Regions from separate parts of the Homo sapiens genome. Here all the other regions are linked to region 1. Evidence: promoter capture Hi-C in 16 types of primary human blood cells and fetal thymus (Javierre and others, 2016). All regions are on one chromosome and are shown on one strand. The core of a region is centred on a gene start or on the middle of the fragment in contact, and the rest is flanking DNA. Distances in the headings are between cores, read along the strand shown.

Region 1 (3,238 bases), core at 690-3,189:
CCCTGCCATGTACTGAATAAATCATTTAATCTCTCAGTTTCAGTTTCTCCAACTGCAACACCGAGATAATGGCACCACCTCACAGGGCTGTTGCTGGGATAATAGGTGTGAAAGCGCCTAAATCGTTGTACAAATGTAAAGTGCTGTTATTATCACCTCTGCTGAATCTACTAGAGCCCCTGCAAGCCTCCCTGCCTGGTGGAGTGTAGACGGTAACTACCTGATTGATTGAATACAGGATAGCTTAGTGACAGCTCTTGTCATAGGCTCCAGGGAGCACAGGTTTGAGCCTAATCCTGCAATCACTCCCTTCACTGACAATGCAAACTCGCCTGCATTTTACAAATCCGTAAGTACTCTCAGCCTTCAGCTGATAAAGCAGGGGCTGCTGCCCTGTGCGCAACAAAACTGCGCCCTCAAAATGACCCGAGGCTGTACCACAGCGCCCTCGCCAGGCAGCACCAGGCGGCACATGCTTTTACAGAGGTGGTGATGGTTGGGGATGGGTTTTCCAGGGACCCTCCTCTGCAGAAGACTCAGCAAGCCCAAAGGAGCACGAATCCTTTTTGTTAAAGGTAACATAGCCTCAGTGTAAGCTTGTAGAATATTTCCCTGCCACACTTTACAAATGAGAAAAAAAGAGGCTGCATGCAGTAGCCACCCACAAGCAGCGAAAAAGAGCAGTATTTGCTTTGGGAGGTTTTGATAAGAAGCCAGGCAGTTACTTTTCCCATCTATGTTGAAAACTCTGGTTTGGGCTTGCTGGCGAATGCCGTGCAAAGCTCATCTTTTGTTAGTCTGCCGAACAATGTTATTGGTTATAATTGGGGCAATTATGGGCTGCTTGAGGAAGCTAAACACAGATGTTTAAGCGCAGGATGGGGGTATTCAAGTCCAAAGCAGCTTGCTTTAAATAGTCCATTTCCCGAATCATCCTGCCTTACTTGAAATTCCCCCAGAACTTGCCCATGTTCAGAGCGAGATTCGGGGAGGAGGGGCTGGGTAGTGAAGCCGGGGAAGCAAGACTCGAGGGAGAGAGATGCACAAAGAGAGGAGGAAGAAAGAAGGTGGCTGAGAGAGCCTCGAGAGTTGGGATGCGGTGACTATGAACGGAGTATTCTGCATGACCTGGGCAAAGACCTTTAGGTGGGGGAGATGGGCAGGGGGAGAGGGATGCCAAGCAAGAGAAGAGCCCTCTAAATGAATCGGGTTCTGGGAGACCAAGGTCACGCCCGTAGAAATGCTCTCTGGAATTCACACGCCGTGGCGCTCAGCAGTGTGTGTATACAGGTGAAGCACACTCCCCAGATCTGGCGCTTCCCCATTATTTGTAGCAATTTCTGCTGGGGGCAGAAGGGAGAAGGGCTCCCTCCGGATTAAAAACTCCCATCTGGATGGCATCAAGTTCAGTGATAGGCGGAGAAGCAGCCTGCGCACCGCATCTGAGAGGAAAGGAAGCCACTGAGAGGAAACCCTCATGAGGGGGCCAGGGTCTTCCTGGGGGCCGCCCCGTGGAAGGCAAACCCCCTCCCAAGTGCCTGCCCCTCCTCTGGCCTCACTCCTCCAGCAGCCTCCTCTCGACACAGAGCAACAACCACGTAGGGGCCACAGCTGGGGAAGCAAAACTTTTCCTCATTTCCAAGTTCCCCTCTTTCTGCTTCTGCGTCTGTCTGAGGTTAAAAAAGAGACTCAGCCCTCCCCCGTTCCCCACCATCCAAGCGCTACAAAGGAGATGAATGAAGAAACCATCTCGCAAGAGGCCAGCAGCATCCACACTGGACAAAGGAGAGAGGCCGAGGAGCCAGCCCCTGGTGGCCCTGCCCTCCCGGAGCTCCACGCAGTTAGTCCAGTTAGTCGCGGTCGGGCTGGGGGCCCCGTGCAGTTGCCTACCTGAGAGCTGTCAGTCCCCGGCTCCCTCCGATGGATGCGAGGCTCGGTTCCGCTTTCTCAGCCACACCAGCATATATATCCTCTCCCCCACGCACAGCCCTCCCCTTCCCTGCCCACCTCCATGACACATACACACACTGACCCCCTTCAGCAACCAAACAGCAGAACCTGCAAGCCTTCCTGGCTGTTCCCTTCCCCCGGCTCTGCCATCAGACCTGTGACATCCCCACCTCCCCATCAATCCATTCTCAAGCCTGCTTCACCTGGACTCTGTTCAGCCAGGATCCCACAGCTGCCTTCCCTGTGCTTCCAGAGGCTCTGTGAGGACTGATGGGGAGCTCTGGCAAGTCAGAAAAAAAGCCTCCTGGTGACAGTGACGAGGCAGACCCCAAATCCTGGAGTCTCCTTGAGCAACCTTTTTGCCTGAGGAGTGAAGAATAGGAGGCAGGCAGAAGGGAGGGGAGCTCATGCCAAGCTCCTACCGACTCGGAGGAGCCCAGGGCTGAGCTAAGCCAAGCCCTGACCTAATGTCATTGCCCCTAACTAGGCCACTCAAGAGGTGGCTGCACCTGCCCTGGGCCAGGTCAGGAGGCATTTCCACAGGTGCCCACAGCATGGTGCAATGGAGAATGCTGAGACTCGAGGCTCAGATGGAAGTGTCTGAAATTCGGCTGTACAGTCAGAGCAAGGCACATCTCTTTGTGAACCTCAAGTCCTCCTTCCGGAAAATGAGTCTAATACTGCCCAGGATGGTTGTGAGTAGAAAAAGGAGATTCTGTTTGAATCTACAACACACGAGGCCCTTAATGAATGTGCTGCATCCTCCCTCTCCTCTCAGCCCGCTTTTCACACTGATTAGTACCACCTGGATGTAGAAATCCCATATCAGTGTCTGGTGTCACAACAGAGAGCTTTTAAAGCTTCTGCAACTTAGGGCATCACTACCGAGGGCCCTGGAGGCTCAGAAGCTCTGGAAGCTTCCCTGTCCCTTACTGCAGAGCCTCTTTGTCTTCTACAGCCGCCGGGGGTTGTGGGCTGCAGGAAAGGAGCTCACAGGCTGAAGGCACAGGCTTGAGGGTTTAGCATCCTTGTGGACCCCACGTTTCCTTACCTTAGGTGAATTTCACCATGACCCTGTCCTTGGTTTTCCTAAGAGGGTCTAAAATATTCCAGAATCCCAGGGTTTGAACCTATGTCATCCAAGGAGCTCAAGCACTCATTCATGTGGTTAAGTCCAGCTCTCTGGTCTACCCAGGACTGGGTGGAGAAGGATTGAGGGAAGCATCTGCCCTGACTGCAAATGGTATAGGGTTTCTTTTTGGGGTAATGGAAATGTTCTGGATTTAGA
Region 2 (3,269 bases), core at 273-2,772, 290 kb after region 1:
ACAAAGTGGAAAACAGCAAAGTGAGTAAATGTATATGGTATGTTGCCATTTGTGAGAGGGGAAAAAAGGAAATACATATGTATATGTTTGTATGTGCATAAAAATCTCCATGGGCTACATAGAACACTGGCAGTACTCGTTGCCTCTAAGGAGGGGAACTGGAAGGCTGGAGGGTAGGAGAGGGTGGGAGCCTTGCTCTGCACCCTGTATATTTTGTGCCTTTTATATTTTATACCACATCCATAGTTGCCTGCTGCAATGAACAGATCTGATGCCATTTGAGTTTGCCAGGGTGAAAGTAGACAGAGCTGTTCCCAAAGTCAAAGCCACAATGGCTGCTTCTAACAATCCGTTCTGCACTTCTCCATCTCTCTGGGAATCTTTATGACCCATTTATGGCTGGTTAGATGGACCTCTAACCTGATCTAACGGACTCCAGGGAAGGAGATACAACACCCTCACACTATAATGTACTGGACTCTCATGACCTTCTGTCCAGGCCTTTATAGGAATCTAAGTTTTAAGATGATAGTCATTCCAATGTGCCTGCTTTAAAGAACTCCCGCTTGCCAGAGATCTTGACCAGCTTCAGTGAAGCTTCCCCGCATCCCAGCCCTGAATAACCACTCTGTCTCTGAACTTCAAGAATTATAGCAGGTGCACTTGACAGATGGTGCTCCCCTCAGTTTGATGTCAAGTGCAACTGCTATAATTTAAGCCTATTTCCTTCTCTTCACCATCGACAGCAAATATACATCATGTCAGGGGGTCATACTTTATAAAGAAATCTAAAAGGCAGTCCCTGTTGTCAGGGCCTTACCTGGTTGGTAAGACAAGATGTGTAAGAATGTGCGTTGTAAGACTGGGGAGTTTACATTCACTCAGCAAGCGATTCTGATCACGTCCTGGGTGCCAGGCAGTGTTCTGGGTGCTGAGGACACAGTGGTGGCCAATACAGGCAAGAGTCCCCACCTTCATGGAGCTCACAGCCCAGTGGGTGGAAGGCAGGCAGTCAGCAAACTAATAAGTGAAATATGTGGCAGGGAAGCGAAACACAGAAAGGGAAGAAGGGATGCTGAGGTACGGGACAGGGTGGTGGGACAGGGTGGTAAAGGAAGGTCTCCCTGGGAATGTGACACTTAAGCAAAGCCCTGAGGGAGGGAACCCACTCAGACTTCAGATCGTTATTCTTGAAGTTCAGAGACAGAGTGGTTATTCAGGGCTGGGACGCGGGGAAGCGTCACTGAAGCTGGGTCCTGGGGGAAGCCTCAAAGGTTAGGTTGATTTCAGAGGCAGTGGGGAGAAGGGAGGCCTTCCAGATATGGGACAGAACAAAAAGACTCCGGGTCCTAACTCCCCTCTGCTCATGAGTCCCATCCCTGGCCAGGCTCAGGGCCAACTAACCTGAGTCACCCTCGGGCACAGAAAGCCAAGGGGGATTAGAAAGGCATTCAGGGCTCAGTCTGAAGTGTCCCTTCAAAGGGGACTGCAATTAGTCAGCGTCCTCCAGATAAACAGAACCAGTAGGATGTGTGGATAGATAGAGGAAGAGATTTATTTTAAGAAGTTGGCCCACACGATGGTGGAGGCTTGGTGAGCCCAAAATCTGATGCAGGGAGGCCCACAGGACAGAGACTCCAGAAAGAGAGGCAGTTCGAGTCCAGAGGCCATCCCTGCAGAACCAGGCAGAGTCGATGTTGCAGACAAAGGCCCAACCAAGGCTTGGCCGGGCACGGTGGCTCATGCCTGTAATCCCAACACTTTGGGAGGCCGAGGCGGGTGTATCAACTGAGGTCAAGAGTTCGAGACCAGCCTGGCCAACGTGGTGAAACCCTGTCTCTACTAAAAATACAAAAAAAAAAAAAAAAAAAAAGAAAGAATTTAGCTAGGCGAGGTGGTGGGTGCCTGTAATCCCAGCTAGTTGGGTGTCTGAGGCAGAAGCACTTGAGCCTGGGAGGCAGAGGTTGCAGTGAGTCAAGATCATGCCATTGTACTGCAGACTTGGTGACAAGAGCAAAACTCCATGTCAAAGGCCCAAGGCTGTCACTGGAGCATCCCTGTTAAATGTGAATCTCATCCAAAAACACCCTCCCAGAGGCATCCAGACTCACGTTTAATCCGGTTTCTGGGCCCTGTGACCTAAACAAGTTGACACATAAAACTAACCATTGTGAGAACATGGTTTGATTACAGATCATGGGATTAAAACCTGAGATGCCAGAAAGAGAACATTCACTGAGAATGGGTTGTGCTGGGAGGATAGGGATTGGGGTGGGGGGAAGAGGGGGAGCCGCCTGGAGAGGAATTAGAGGAGGTGTTATTGTGCAACATGCTTTGTATATCACACACCTGTGAAGCCTTAATACAGACCCAGTGACTTCTCAGGGTTTTTCTTATGGGTAGGTTTGGGTTTCTTTTGAGGGTGACCCCATGCTGAGAAAGCTTTCTGGTAAGAGGAGGAACACCTGCTTTGATGTCTGATCTGTAAGCACCACTCCAGATCTCATATTCTGGGACAAGTGACAGGATTGTTGGGGGATTTGCTTTCTGGAGACGTTTCTGCAACGGACACCAAGTCCTGATGTGAGCTTTCTGCTCTCCTGTAGATGTCGGGAGTGAATACAAGGAGATGGAGAAGCTGCACAGAAGCCTGAGGGAGGTCGCGGAGAATGCACGGCTGAGGAAGGGCATGCAAGAATTCCTCCTAAGGGCATCCCCCAGCAAGGCTGGCCCCCCCGGGACATCACTGTAACTCCTGGGGCTTAGTCCCAATGGATGAAAAATCAGCCCAGAGCCAGAGAATTAGAATTACTTTTTTTGTTCTTAAGAGACAAGATCTATCTACCTCTGTTGCCCAGGCTGGAGTGCAGTGGCACCATCACAGCTCACTGCAGCCTCGAACTCCTAGGCTCAAGCGATCCTCCAGCCTCAGCCTCCAGAGCAGCTGGGGCTACAGGTACAGGCCACCACACCTGGGTAATTTTTTTTTTTTTTTTTTTGAGACAGAGTCTCGCTGTGTCACCCAGGCTGGAATGCAGTGGTGCAATCTCGGCTCACTGCAACCTCCACCTCCTGGGTTCAAGAAATTCTCTGCCTCAGCCTCCCAAGTAGCTGGGATTATAGGCGACTGCCACCACACCCGGTTAATTTTTATATTTTTAGTAGAGACGGGGTTTCATCATCTTGGCCAGGCTGGTCCTGAACTCCTGACCTCGTGATCCACCCATCTCTGCCTCCCAAAGTGCTGGGATTACGGGCATGAGCCACCG
Region 3 (2,892 bases), core at 32-2,531, 370 kb after region 1:
TCAAGCTTTCCATACATTTGATTATTCATTGTGTCATCTCTTAAGGAGACTGGCTGTTTAAGCCTTTTGCCTGGTTACTATGTGAGGTCAAATCAGGCATTTATAAAGTGTCTAATACATACTCACTACCATGGGGTGCTATAGGGGGACCAAGGAAGTATAAGACCTGGTTCTTATCTTCCAGAAGGCTATGATTGACACTCACATCTTATTTACTTGTTGTTGATTTCTTTGTACCCAACCTGCTGCTTTGCACAACCTGTATGCTTCATAAATCTTTATGTAGTTAAATCCCGGATGACATGTTTGTTGTCTTTGTGGTTCACAGAGATCAGCACTCAATTTAAAGGAATGCGGAATCAGAACCCAAAATAAGGCTGAAACCCAGAGAGATAGCTTAGACCTGGTCAATTAATATGGACACACATGAAGTAGTGCCCCACAAATGGGGAAGCCACGGCTTGACATCAGTTTTTAAAGCAAGGTTGAGGGTTTGAGTTTGGCAGGATGCAGTCTATGAGTCAGTGTGTGACATGCCTGCCACCAAAAGCTATCGTGATCAAAGTTACGTTCATAGAGAATAAGGGAGGCACCAGTATTATTTGGCTCCATGCAGGTTAGACAACTCCTCAGTGTTTCCTTTTTTTTTTTTCAATTTATTATTATTTTTTTACAGTCTCATTCCCATCACCCAGGCTGGAGTGCAGTGGGCACAATCACAGCTCACTGCAGCCTCTTCTTCCTGAACTCAGATGATCCTCCTACCTCAGCCTCCTGAGTAGCTGGCACTACAGGCCTATACCACCACACCTGGCTAATTTTTTGTATTTTTAGTAGAGATGGTTTTGCCATGTTGCCCAGGCTGGTCTTGAGCTCCTGGGTTCAAGTCATCCACCTGCCTCAGTTTCCCAGAGTACTGGGATTACAAGCATGAGTCACAGCGCCTGACCTCAATTATTTTTTTTTGAGACAGGCTCTCGCTCTGTCGCCCAGACGAGTGCAGTGGCGTGATCTCGGCTCACTGCAACCTCTGCCTCCCAGGTTCAAATGATTCTCCCACCTCAGCCTCCCAAGTATCTGGGATTGCAGGCAACTGCCACCATGCCCAGCTACTTTTTTTTTTTTTTTCTATTTTTACAAAATGGAGTTTCACCATGTTGGCCAGGCTGGTCTCAAACTCCTGACCTCAGGTGATCCATCCACCTTGGCCTCCCAAAGTGCTAGGATTACAGGCATGAGCCACCATGCCTGGTCTTAATTTTTTATTTTTTAAAAAATGTTAAACCTACAGAGAAGTTGGAAGCTATAAAGAGTGCTATATACCCTTCATTTTAATATTGTTAACATTTTATGCCATTTGCGTGTACCTGCTCTCTCTTCTCGCCCCACGTTTGTTATTACCATTTTTAATTTTTGTGGAACCATTTGACAGTGAGTTGCAAACTTCACCCCTAAATATGTTAGTGTGTATTTACAAGAACAAGGACATTGTCTTATATCACCACTATACAATTACTGAATTCAAGAAATCTAATGCTGATTATAAATACAGTATATCCATATTTAATTTTCTTCCGTTGCTCCAAGAATGTCCTTTATAACCATTTTTAAAACTCCTGATGCAGGATCCAATCCAGAATATACATGTGGTTTTCATGGCTCCATAGTCTTTTCTAGATGGGTTCCTTGCCTTTCACTGTATTTCATGACATGGACATTTTAAAGAATGCAGGCCAGTTGCTTGCTATCCTGTCCTTTAACTTGGGTTTGTTTAATTGTTTTCCCATGATTGACGTAGGTTAAACCTTCTTGGCAGTAACACTTTCTAAGTCATTTGAGGAGGTGGATTGTGTCAATTTGTTCCTGTACTGGTAATGGTAAATTTGGTTAAGGTAAATTTGGTCAGAATAATCTACTGTAAAGCTATCTTTTATTCCCTCTGATTAAGAAGTGATCTGTGGGGAGACACTCTGAGGCTGTGTAAATACACTGATTGCCAGCAATCCTTCACTCCATGATTTTAGCATCCACTTACAATTCTTGCCCGAGTCAGTTATTACAAAGGTGGTCATCAAATGTGGCTTTTCTAACCCTCTTCATTGCTGTTTTCCTCTCTGACCGCTGCAATGTAAGGTGGCTGCAGACAGTGGTGTGCTGGTCAGCTCTGATTACGTGCGTCTTTTCCTAACTCCGTAGTCAATGATGTCATGTTGGTAGCTTGAAGTCGGTCATAGTGGGATATTTACACCTCAAACATTGGCAAGCACCACAGCTTAGGCTTCTCCCCAACCCCTTGGAGAACCAGTTGTTAAACATTTATCAGCATACCGCTGGATGCATTTAAGCTAAAACACATTCAGGAAAGAATGACTTTGGCAATAAAGGGACTTTATAATTATTTTTAGTCAGAGTCTCACTCCCGTCACCCAGGCTGGAGTGCAGTGCTCACTGCAGCCTCCATTTCCCAGGCTCAGGTGATCCTCCCACCTCAGCCTCCGGAATAGCTAGGACTACAGGCTCACACCACCATGCCTGGTTTGTAAAAACACAAGCTTTTTGTATTTTTAGTAGAGACAGGGTTTTGCCATGTTGGCAAAGGAAACCTTAAGGAAAGGGGATCCATCTTCAAATATTTAGAGGGCTATCTTGTGGGGTACCCTCATTAGTTAGGATGCAACCTCCTAACACACCCCACCCTTCCAACCTCTTGGTGCTTCTATGTTGGATGGCTCCTTCAAGGCATCACAGGACTGCACCTCTCCCACCACTGGCTTCCTATCAAGGAGCCAGCAGGGAACAGAATGGAACACAGAGGGTGCAGGTCACCTTGAGCAGGAAGAGGGATGCTTCTTACTCTCATCTGAGAAGAAGCAGTGTGTTTGCAGAACTATG
Region 4 (2,832 bases), core at 76-2,575, 280 kb after region 1:
TGACAGCATGTTTGGGGAATAGCAGCAAGTCCAGGGGTAGCTACTTGGCAGGATGTGTCAGGCAAACAGAGATGGTGGTGCTAGAGAGGTGGAGTGAGTTCTGGCTATGAGGTGCCTTAAAGGCCAAGCTGGGGAGTGTGGCTCTGACTGCTGCAGGCACTGTGGGGCCCACCAAGGTTCCCATGTGGGGAACAACACTATGAGTTCCCAGTCTGGAACTGTATTAGTCCATTTTCATGCTGCTGATAAAGACATACCCGAGACTGGGTAATTTATAGAGAAAATGAGGTTTAATGGACTCACAGTTCCATGTGCCTGGGGAGGCCTCACAATCATTGTGGGCAAAAGGCATGTCTTACATGGTGGCATGTTTTATAAGGTTTTATAAGGTTTCTCCTTATAAAACCATCAGATCTCATGAGACTCATTCACTACCATGAGAACAGTATGGGGAAAGCCAATCCCATGATTCAATTATCTCCCACCAGGTCCCCCCCACAACACGTGGAATTATGGGAGCTACAATTCAAAATGATATTTGGGTGGGTACACAGCAAACCATATCAGGCACCTAGGGGTCAAGGCTTTCTCTGGTGGTCACTTCCTTGTATTATTTGAATATATGTTTTCTCCCTGATTAGACTGTATTCTTTGAAGAAGGAAGCATGGATTTATTTTTGTGGTCCTGTAGCTTTGCTATGCAAAGTGTGGTCCATAGCTCGGAAGACCAGCATTACTTGAGGACTGGCTAGAAATGCAGAATCCCAGGACCTTGGATTTCAGATTTTAAGATCTCCTGTTGATTTGTATGCATGTTAAAATTTAAGAAGCATTATCCTTAAAAACTCCTTCGTGCAGAGTCCAAGCCCGTGAAATGTTTGTTGAATCAGATGTCATTGGAAAAATCTGTTTTAATAACAATTGGATTTCTATGTGGATAGCTACTTCCCCAAATAACCTGATGGATTACACAGCTGAAATAAGTTGCTGAATAAGCAGAGACTGTGATTTTTAAGAAATGAAATAAGTTGCACCAGGCAGGTATTTGTTCTATTCTCTAACCCCACAAAGCCTAAAGGGGTCTGTGCACTGAGTGAGGTCTTATGGGGACAATAAAGAGAAGTCAGCTCTGAGTGATAAGCTGAATCTTGAGCTGGTGACAAGCTTAAAGAAAGCAAAGCTTCAGGAGAAGGTGCCCTTAGGGAGGGGGTGGCCTGATTCTTTTATGGTCCTTGTCCCTAGAATGAACACTTGCACATGAGTGTCCTGCGGAGATTTGCGGAAGAGAAGGTTGAGCTGCTGGAGAAGGCCATCGCACAGTGCTTCGCCTGCATGGAGCAGCCTCTGCAAGAAGGGGTCAGGACCGCCAGGACTTCTTACCGCTGCATCCTCAGAGCATGCTTGGTGGTGAGTGACCCTTCCAGGGAAAACTCAGATATTCCAGGAGGCCTGCCCGATCCCCAAGCTTCTTTTGCATCATCCCATTCCCTTCAAAAGAGGTAAAGAGTTAGCGGGCCGGGCATGGCGGCTCATGCCTGTAATCCCAGCACTTTGGGAGGCCGAGGTGGGCGGATCACAAGGTCAGGAGATCAAGACCATCCTGGCCAACATGGTGAAACCCCGTCTCTACTAAAAATACAAAAATTAGCCAGGTGTGGTGGCGTGTGCCTGTCATCCCAGCTGCTCAGGAGGCTGAGGCAGGAGAATTGCTTGAACCAGGGAGGCGGAGATTGCAGTGAGCCGAGACTGCACTACTGCACTCCAGCCTGGCGAGAGAGTGAGACTCCATCTCAAAAAAAAAAACAAGAACAAAAAACAAAAAACAAAAAAAAAGAGCCAGAGGAGGTTAGGAGAGAGTGAAAATTGCACATAACAGTTGTTCATCTGTGTCTTGAAAGGACCAAGGAAGGTACACAGTTCAGCAAAGACAGAGTGGGAATCTGGGATCTGAGGGTCTTGGTTGGAGTACCAGCTCCACCAAACATCCACCTTGTAGCCCCGGGCAAAGCCCTAGACCCATTTTTTAAAAATTTATTGGTTTTCTACTATAAAATGAGGATGCTCAATGCTTGCCCTACCTATCTGGTAGTGTTGATATCAGTATCAATGAGCTTACACAATGAGGAAACATCTTGTAACCTCTCAATTGGCATACAAGTTGTGGTTTTATTTCTTAATTAGTTGTATAGAGTTTCTGAAGGATGAAAATGTAAGTGTAAGGCAGTATTTATCTAAGACTAAGGGGTGAAAAAAGAGGCCTATTGTATTAGTCTGCTTGGGCTGCCATAACAAAATCCTATAGACTGGGTGGCCTGAACCACAGACATCGATTTTCCCATAGTTCTGAAGGCTGAAAGTCCAAGATCAAGGTGTCAGCAGGGTGAGTTCTGAGGCCTCTCTCCTCTTCTGGAGAAGGTAGATGGCCACATTTTTGCTGCATCCTCACGTGGCCTCTTCACTGAGCACGCACACTCCTGGGATCTCTTTCTCTTCCCAGAAGGACACCACACCTGTCAGATCAGGGCCCCACCCTTATGACCCCATTTAACCTTAATTACCTCCTTACCAGCTGTGTCTCCAAACACAGTCACCCTGGTGGTTAGGGCTTCGCATGTGAACCTCAAGGGTCACACTTTAGTCCATAGCACCCATTAAGGGGAAGATGTGATGGACAACACTGTATGACTTGGTGTCCCCCCGTGCTGGGAGAAGTGCATGGATGGTCTGTGGTTGTAGTTTTTAGTGGGCCTTGGAAAGTTGGAATGTGAGCAGTGGAAAATGTGTGAAAAGGTGAGTGTGATGGGGTGGTTGGCTTCCTGGAGGCTTTTCTAT
Region 5 (3,236 bases), core at 92-2,591, 400 kb after region 1:
GATTCATGAAAACAAGTTCGCAAAGCAGATTTGTCTGTGGGCTGATTTCGTGAGAAAAAACACAATCTATTAGAGAGTCCAGTTCAGCAAATATTTATAAAGGGATGACGTCACAGAGTGGGGCTTTGGATTCCAGGCTAATGCTGGGACTCTGGTTTCTGGGTAGTAGGGACCTGCTGAAAGTGGGGAACATCTCTGAGTGGAGTGACAGGTAAAGTGGCCTTTCTGTTCTACTGAGGGCTGAGGAGCATGGCCTGGGCTGAGGTCCCTGGGACGTTGTATGGTGAGCCAAGCTCTCATATCTCCTTCCACACGGACTCTGCTGGGAAGTGGGTGGAGTTGCCCCCAGCCCCGCCCACCACCCTCCATTGGGGGCTCGGAGGACGGTAGCAAGGGCAGTCCCAGCACCTTTCTGGGCCTGAGTCTCCTCGGCTGTGAAATGGGGCTGACAGTGCCTGCCTTGTCCACTTCTCAGGGTCACAGAGAGATGCCTTAAATGATGAAAAAAAGAGACCTCACAATTGTAAAGGTGATAGGGGCTCAGAATCCAGGCCCTGGTGACTTGAGGGTACTGGAAGTGGAGCTGTTTGCTGAGCCACTCTACCCTGTCAGCCGGCCTGTGGTTAGCATGGTTCTGGGGGTGGTTTTGACTGTACTGCTGGCTCCAGGCCAGGCTCATCAGCTGTCCTCATAATTTGCTCTTGGCACATCAGTTCCTGGATTCCAGCCCACACAGGTCCCCTACCCCGTCATGTGTTCTGGGATCAGGGAAGGGAGAAGGCATGGGTTTCCCCTCATTGGCTGATCCCCAGGAAAACCCCGGTGCTTCTCCTGAATGCCTGGTCCCAGACCCTTCGTCCCACTGGGAAGATGCTTCTGGTGGGAGCAACTGCACTGAGGGGAGCATGAGGGGAGTGGGCTAGATGAGTGGACAAAGCCTGAGCAGGGACCCCAGGACCCTGCTCCTCCTTGTCCCAGCCACCTCCATGCCCTGGCCTGCCTTGGTGACAGAAAAGATGAGAAATGAGATGGTGTAGAAAGTTGAGAAGTGAAAAAGCTAACCTGGGTACCTCTTGGAACAACAGATGTCATGGCACTTCTGCTACTACACGTTAGTCATTCTTCAGATCCTGATTGTTTGCTGGGTGTGTGCAAGGCACAGGCCACAGACAGTGCCCTACAGAAGGTTCTGTCCTCCTTGGGAACCACAGTTCGAGGTGGGGGATAGTGCCCAGGGAGTGGGCAGAGGTCACCTGACCAGGCTCCGGGTGCTCCCACAGGGGCATTGTGCACGAGGATCTCCCCACCTCCTTCTAGCTCTGAGATTTGGGGGCTCTGCCCATGGTACACTAAGAGACCAGAAGGGTGGGTGTATTCGTCTGTTCTCACACTGCTAATAAAGACATACCTGAGATTGGGTAATTTATAAAGAAAAAGAGGTTTAATGGACTCACAGTCCACATGGCTGAGGAGGCCTCACAATCATGGCAGGAGGTGAAGGAGGAGCAAAGGCACATCTTACATGGCAGCAGGCAAGAGAGTGTGTGCAGAACTCCCCTTTATAAAACCATCAGACCTCATGAGACTTATTCACTATCACGAGAACAGCAAGGGAAAGACCCACCCCCATGATTCAGTTACCTCCCACTGAGTCCCTCCCACAACACATGGGAATTATGGGAGCTACAGTTCAAGATGAGATTTGGGTGGGGACACAGCCAAACCAAATCAGTGGGCATGAAGGCAGTCTCAGGACTAAGAGGGACTGGACTCTTAGGATTTGGCTAATGTTCAGGGACACTATGAGGAGAGCGTTTGTGCAGAGGTGGAGGAAAGTTGGTGACCATGAGCACCGAGCTGTAAGTTTGCAGCAGAAGGGGTCAGATCGTGAGTGATCTGCAGGGGCCTTGACAGGGGAAGCTGCACCTGTGGTGCAGTGAGGGGCCTTCCCGTGCTCTGAGTCCCTTTGGTTGCTTTGTTGTTTCAGAGAGATGGATCAGACAGCAAGGCACACATGGGCTGGAGAGAGACGGAGACAGGGAGGTTCTTATAAAGGCCAGAGCCAGGCCATAAGGACCTGACGAGGGTGGAGGCAGTGAGGAAGGAGGTGGAGACATGAGAAGGACCTTCCTTTATGAGAAGCCTCGAATCACAGATGCATGTAGCTGGAAAGGGATGCAAAAGGGGGACAGGAAAGAAGAATCAGAGCAGGCTCAAGATTTCCAGCTTGGGTTTCTGAAGAAAGGATAGTGTCAGTAAACACACTAAAAAGTCAAATCCTGAGATTGCTTCACCTACAGGCAGCATCAGTGATTTAAAGATCACTTGGTCCTCGGAGCCCCTGGCAGCTCGGCCCCTCGAGGCTCTGGCCAAATCATCAGCCCTTCTGAGTCAGCCAGGCCTGTACCACCTGAGGATGTGATGAAGGCTTGGGAATTGGTGCCCACCTTTACTGCCCACCCCACCTTCTTCCCAGTTAATCTCCAGTAAAGACCTTCATAACCACATAGTTATGTTTAAAACAAAATCCATCTGTAGCATGTTCTTGAGCCCTGCCTCTCCTTGGATGACCCAGCCAAACTCCACAGGGTGATTTCAGGTGCGCTTGGAATACCCGGAAGTTGTCATCCTATAATGGTTCTGAGGAGGTGTTATGCAAAGTGAGGAGGCGTTATGCAGAGTGAGGTGATCGGGATGGCCCCCCTCACTCAAGGCTTTGAAGCCCTTCTCTAGTCATCATGCCACTGAATCCACTCAGTCCTCACTACAACTGCACATTTAATAGAATCAGAACTTGAACCCAAGACTCAATATCCATACTCAATGCCCACCTTCCAGATGATGTCTACCACCCAGAGGCCCTACATCAGGGTCTTTGGGCAGCATCCTCCCTTGGCGAGAGTGACTCCTGGGAAGACCCCCCTGCAGGTTGCACCTGCATCTGAGGGGCAGGTGAAATTGGAGGGTGCAGTCCCTTGCATCTGTGACCAGCTCAGTTCCTGGAGCACCCGGGGTGGTGGAGGCAGAGAGGAGAGAAAGGGGTGGGCATCCAGCCCAGCAGCAGAGATCTAGGTACCCTCTCCCAGTTCCCTTTGCTGCAGCCTTGGCCTTGGCCTTAAGGGGAGATCGCTGGGAAGGGGTAGTGGAACGCATTTGCTTCCTGACTCCGCCCTTCGTTTCTGTGCCATCTTTGGTCTGTTTCCAACAGGTTCTCTAACTCAATCATGTGGTCTGAA
Region 6 (3,190 bases), core at 61-2,560, 440 kb after region 1:
ACGGCAGGGTTCCCCACATCATGGAGTGGAGCCGGGCGTACCTGCTGTCTTGCCTGAGGTCATTGCTGTCCAACCCACTGTGCTAAATGGCTACAGGGTGAGGGGAGAAAGTGGCATGTCCCTTCCAGATGGGGACTCGGAGCCAGGTCACATCCAGACTGGAGGTGGAAGCCTCCACTCCTCCCAGCCGCCTTCCTCTTCATCCCCATAAGGGGCTGCTGCAGTTCTTGGTCTGAATCTCATCCCATAGATCTCATTGGTAATTGACTGAAAGTGACCCTTGGTGAAATCTGTCGAGCCAGCTGGCAGGGAGTGCCGTCTTAAGGGCCAGAGTTTGAGGGGCGAGTTCGAAGGGATCCGGCACCATGAAGGGCAGCCTACCAGGAAAGAATACTGTTCTCCCACCTAAGGCTTGGGGCTGGATTCCAGCTGGTTTTGACTAAGGAAAACCACCGTTGTTGTTGATTAGAATAGGAACAGTCCTCAAATTCCCATTTCTAGCTCCGAAGAAGGCTTCTTCCTAATAAGTGGCAGTAAAACCTTTTGAGAAAAAAAATTATAAATTATTTTCAAGAAGCCAGAATAGGTAGTTTGAAGATCACAGGTCATGTTAGCCTGACTCTGCCAGTTGGTGAAAAGGCAGTGGGTGGGCTTCGAGTGCCAGGCCAGCGATCCTGTAGACTGTGGCTTCTTTCACTCCCCTGATCTGTTCCTCTTGACACAGGGAAGCTCTAAGCTTGTCACTTGATTCTTTAAACTGGTCGATAGGAAGCTGGACTTGCTTTCACGAATGCCCTATTTTTTTGCCCCATTATTTCCCTATCATGGTGCCCTAACAGGTCTCAGGTGCTATTCAAGACCTTGGCTGGTTGCAGGCCAGGTGTCACTAGCAGTATACAGAGGGCTGTAGGGGCCTGGGCAGGGAAGGGCTGGCATAACTGAGGCTTTCTGCCAGCCCAGGCTGCACCCATGTTCTCCTCCTCTCTACAAGCAGTTTCCAGGCACCTAGCATGGGCCAGGCTAGCTGCAGGGCTGGGGGGCAGAGCTGACCAAGCCCAGCCCTGGCCACAGCATGGGCAATGTAGAGGAGGATTCTAAACCATGTGCCAAGGGTTTTAATGCTGTTGTAGTCATGGGGCCGAGAGGAGGGAAAGCTGTCATTCCTGGCGGCAGGCAGAGCCACCCTGCCAGCATCCTACCCACTGGTGCCCCAACCCCACTCCCAGCTCGTCTGCTGTTGAGCCTGAAGGAGCCTCCCAGGTCCCTCTCGCTCTGCCTCCTAGCCTTCTTCTCACCCTCTTCCTTCCTGACAGTTTCCTCTCCCTAGCACCCCCAACACCCCGCCTCTGCTGTCCTTGTGTTCTGCACACTCTCTCTGGAGGCTGCCTCCACACCTGGGGCTTCAGTCACCCCCAGCTCTTCCCTCTGTCACAGTGCTCAGTGGAGCTCCAGACCCAAGTGTCCGGTGACCTTCCTGACAGGTGCACTCGGATGCCCCATGGGCTTCTCCAATGGCAGCTGTCACAATTGCACACATATCCTTCCCACCAGATCCTGTGCCTCTCTCATTGCCATCACCAGAACCGTCCTACCAGTCAGACCCCATCCCAGCCAGAACCCTGGGCCACCTCTTCCCTGTCACCACTCCCCCTCCCCACATCAGGTTGGTCCCCGAGTCCTGCAGATCCCACCAGTGTTCACTCCTCTGGCATTCCTTGAACCTGTCCCCACCTCGTCGTTCTTGCTGTCCTCCCCTTAGGAGATTAGCAGGTAGAGCAGTGGTTAGTGCCCCAGCCCTGGAGTCAAACCACCCATGTCAGAATCCCGGATCTGCCACTTGCAGCTGGAGACCTTGACTAGATTCCCTACCCTCTCTAAGCTTCAGTTCTTCCGCTATTGAAGAATTACTATAAATGCTAAAGGAGATCTTGGGTGTCAAGCAGTTAGCATGCACAGGCTCTGTTGTGCACGCTTATCTACAAGTGTGGGGTGGAGGTGGGGACAGTAGAGGCTCTAATCCTCCAGGAGTCACTCCTCACGGCCACCACACCTGCAGGCTAGCTCCTGTGGCCTTCCTTCTCATGGCTGCTGGGGATCTTTCTTTTTTTCTCTTTTTAAGAGATGAGGTCTCCCTCTGTCACCCATGGAGTGCAGTGGTGCAATCATAGCTTGCTGCAGCCTCGACCTCCCAGGCTCAAGCAATCCTCCTGCCTCAGCCTCCTGAGTAGCTGGGACCACAGGCACATGCTACTATGCCAAGCTAATTATTTCATTTTATTATTTTGGAGAAATAGGGTCTTGCTATGTTGCCCAGGCTGGTCTCAAACTGTTAGGGATCTTTCTAAAACGAGTGCCTGGTCACCTCACTCCCTGCCTGGGTCCTCAGAGGATTTTTATCGCTCTCAGAATCAAGCTGGATTTCCTTAGCTCAGCACCCAAGGATCTTCTTAGTTGGCCTCCTGCCCACCCCACACCTCTCCACACTGCACCTGCTGGTGGTTCTCGGGGCACAGATGGTGTGTTTCATGTCCCACCTCTTCTCCTGTGCTGCTCCTCCTGCTGGAAGGCTTTTCCCTCCCTCTTCAGCTAGGGAATTCCTACTCAGCTTTTAAAGGCAGCTCAATGATCTTTCCTGAGGGAAGCTTTTCTGGCTCCTTCCATGCTCCCTCACCCCTAAGATGGAAATAACCCTCCTCTATGATCCCGTCACATTCTTCTCTATCACAGCACTTCTTATACTCTCCTGATCCCTGCGATACATGGAAACATCTTGAGGGCTTCACCTTTGTAGTTCCAAAACCCAAAACTACCTGGGGCATAATAGGAGCTGGATAAATGTAGAAGGGAAGAAAGGAAGGAGGGAGGGAAAGTAGGAAGAAAAGGAGGGAGGAGTGAAGAGAGGGAGGGAGGGAGGAGTGAAGGGAGGGAGGGAGGGAGGGAGGAACAGAGGGAGAGAGGAAGGAAGAAAGAAGGGAGCGAGGAAGGAAGAATAGAAGGAAGGAAGGAATTCCAGTGCCTGCCAAACCTGAGTCCTCCCTGTCTCCAAGCCCTGACAGCTCTCCCAGGGGTCTGGCACCATAACATTTCTCCTGGACAGGGCATAGTAATCAGATTTTCTGTTTGCATGGGGGAAGCCAAGAAAGACCCAAATGGGAGGGCCTTGAAGATGTTCTAAATTTTAAATTGGTCC

The links. The method cuts DNA at HindIII sites, captures the fragments that hold promoters and counts their contacts. A CHiCAGO score of 5 or more calls a contact.
Region 2: a contact is called between a fragment that was not itself captured here and the fragment with the promoter of PNOC in region 1, in 6 of 17 cell types (M0 macrophages, endothelial precursors, M1 macrophages and 3 more). The highest score is 7.3, in M0 macrophages.
Region 3: a contact is called between a fragment that was not itself captured here and the fragment with the promoter of PNOC in region 1, in 1 of 17 cell types (M1 macrophages). The highest score is 5.4, in M1 macrophages.
Region 4: a contact is called between a fragment that was not itself captured here and the fragment with the promoter of PNOC in region 1, in 11 of 17 cell types (M0 macrophages, endothelial precursors, M1 macrophages and 8 more). The highest score is 10.9, in M0 macrophages.
Region 5: a fragment that was not itself captured here is called in contact with the fragment with the promoter of PNOC in region 1 in 2 of 17 cell types (M2 macrophages and M1 macrophages); the score reaches 5.5 in M2 macrophages.
Region 6: a contact is called between a fragment that was not itself captured here and the fragment with the promoter of PNOC in region 1, in 4 of 17 cell types (erythroblasts, M1 macrophages, M2 macrophages and 1 more). The highest score is 6.7, in erythroblasts.

What each region holds. Positions count from the first base shown.
Region 1 is chr8:28,315,969-28,319,206 of GRCh38, reverse strand. It overlaps PNOC (prepronociceptin), which reads right to left and starts at 1,939. Exons shown (of 4, transcript NM_006228.5): 1 at 1,891-1,939. RefSeq lists enhancers at 1-433, 434-946. The HindIII fragment of the contact is 2,214 bases long and covers 599-2,812 here.
Region 2 is chr8:28,022,800-28,026,068 of GRCh38, reverse strand. It overlaps NUGGC (nuclear GTPase, germinal center associated), which reads left to right. Exons shown (of 19, transcript NM_001010906.2): 19 at 2,607-3,269. The coding sequence ends at 2,752. Among named protein-coding and RNA genes, the nearest start is that of SCARA5, 32 kb to the right of the region's middle. The HindIII fragment of the contact is 1,845 bases long and covers 600-2,444 here.
Region 3 is chr8:27,942,942-27,945,833 of GRCh38, reverse strand. All of the region lies in intron 3 of SCARA5 (scavenger receptor class A member 5), which reads left to right. Among named protein-coding and RNA genes, the nearest start is that of SCARA5, 48 kb to the left of the region's middle. The HindIII fragment of the contact is 2,547 bases long and covers 8-2,554 here.
Region 4 is chr8:28,039,626-28,042,457 of GRCh38, reverse strand. It overlaps NUGGC (nuclear GTPase, germinal center associated), which reads left to right. Exons shown (of 19, transcript NM_001010906.2): 13 at 1,243-1,407. Among named protein-coding and RNA genes, the nearest start is that of NUGGC, 43 kb to the left of the region's middle. The HindIII fragment of the contact is 285 bases long and covers 1,183-1,467 here.
Region 5 is chr8:27,912,461-27,915,696 of GRCh38, reverse strand. All of the region lies in intron 4 of SCARA5 (scavenger receptor class A member 5), which reads left to right. Among named protein-coding and RNA genes, the nearest start is that of MIR4287, 28 kb to the right of the region's middle. The HindIII fragment of the contact is 4,483 bases long and covers 1-3,236 here.
Region 6 is chr8:27,874,926-27,878,115 of GRCh38, reverse strand. The region is part of intron 8 of SCARA5 (scavenger receptor class A member 5); the gene reads left to right. Among named protein-coding and RNA genes, the nearest start is that of MIR4287, 9.6 kb to the left of the region's middle. RefSeq lists an enhancer at 1-492. The HindIII fragment of the contact is 1,143 bases long and covers 739-1,881 here.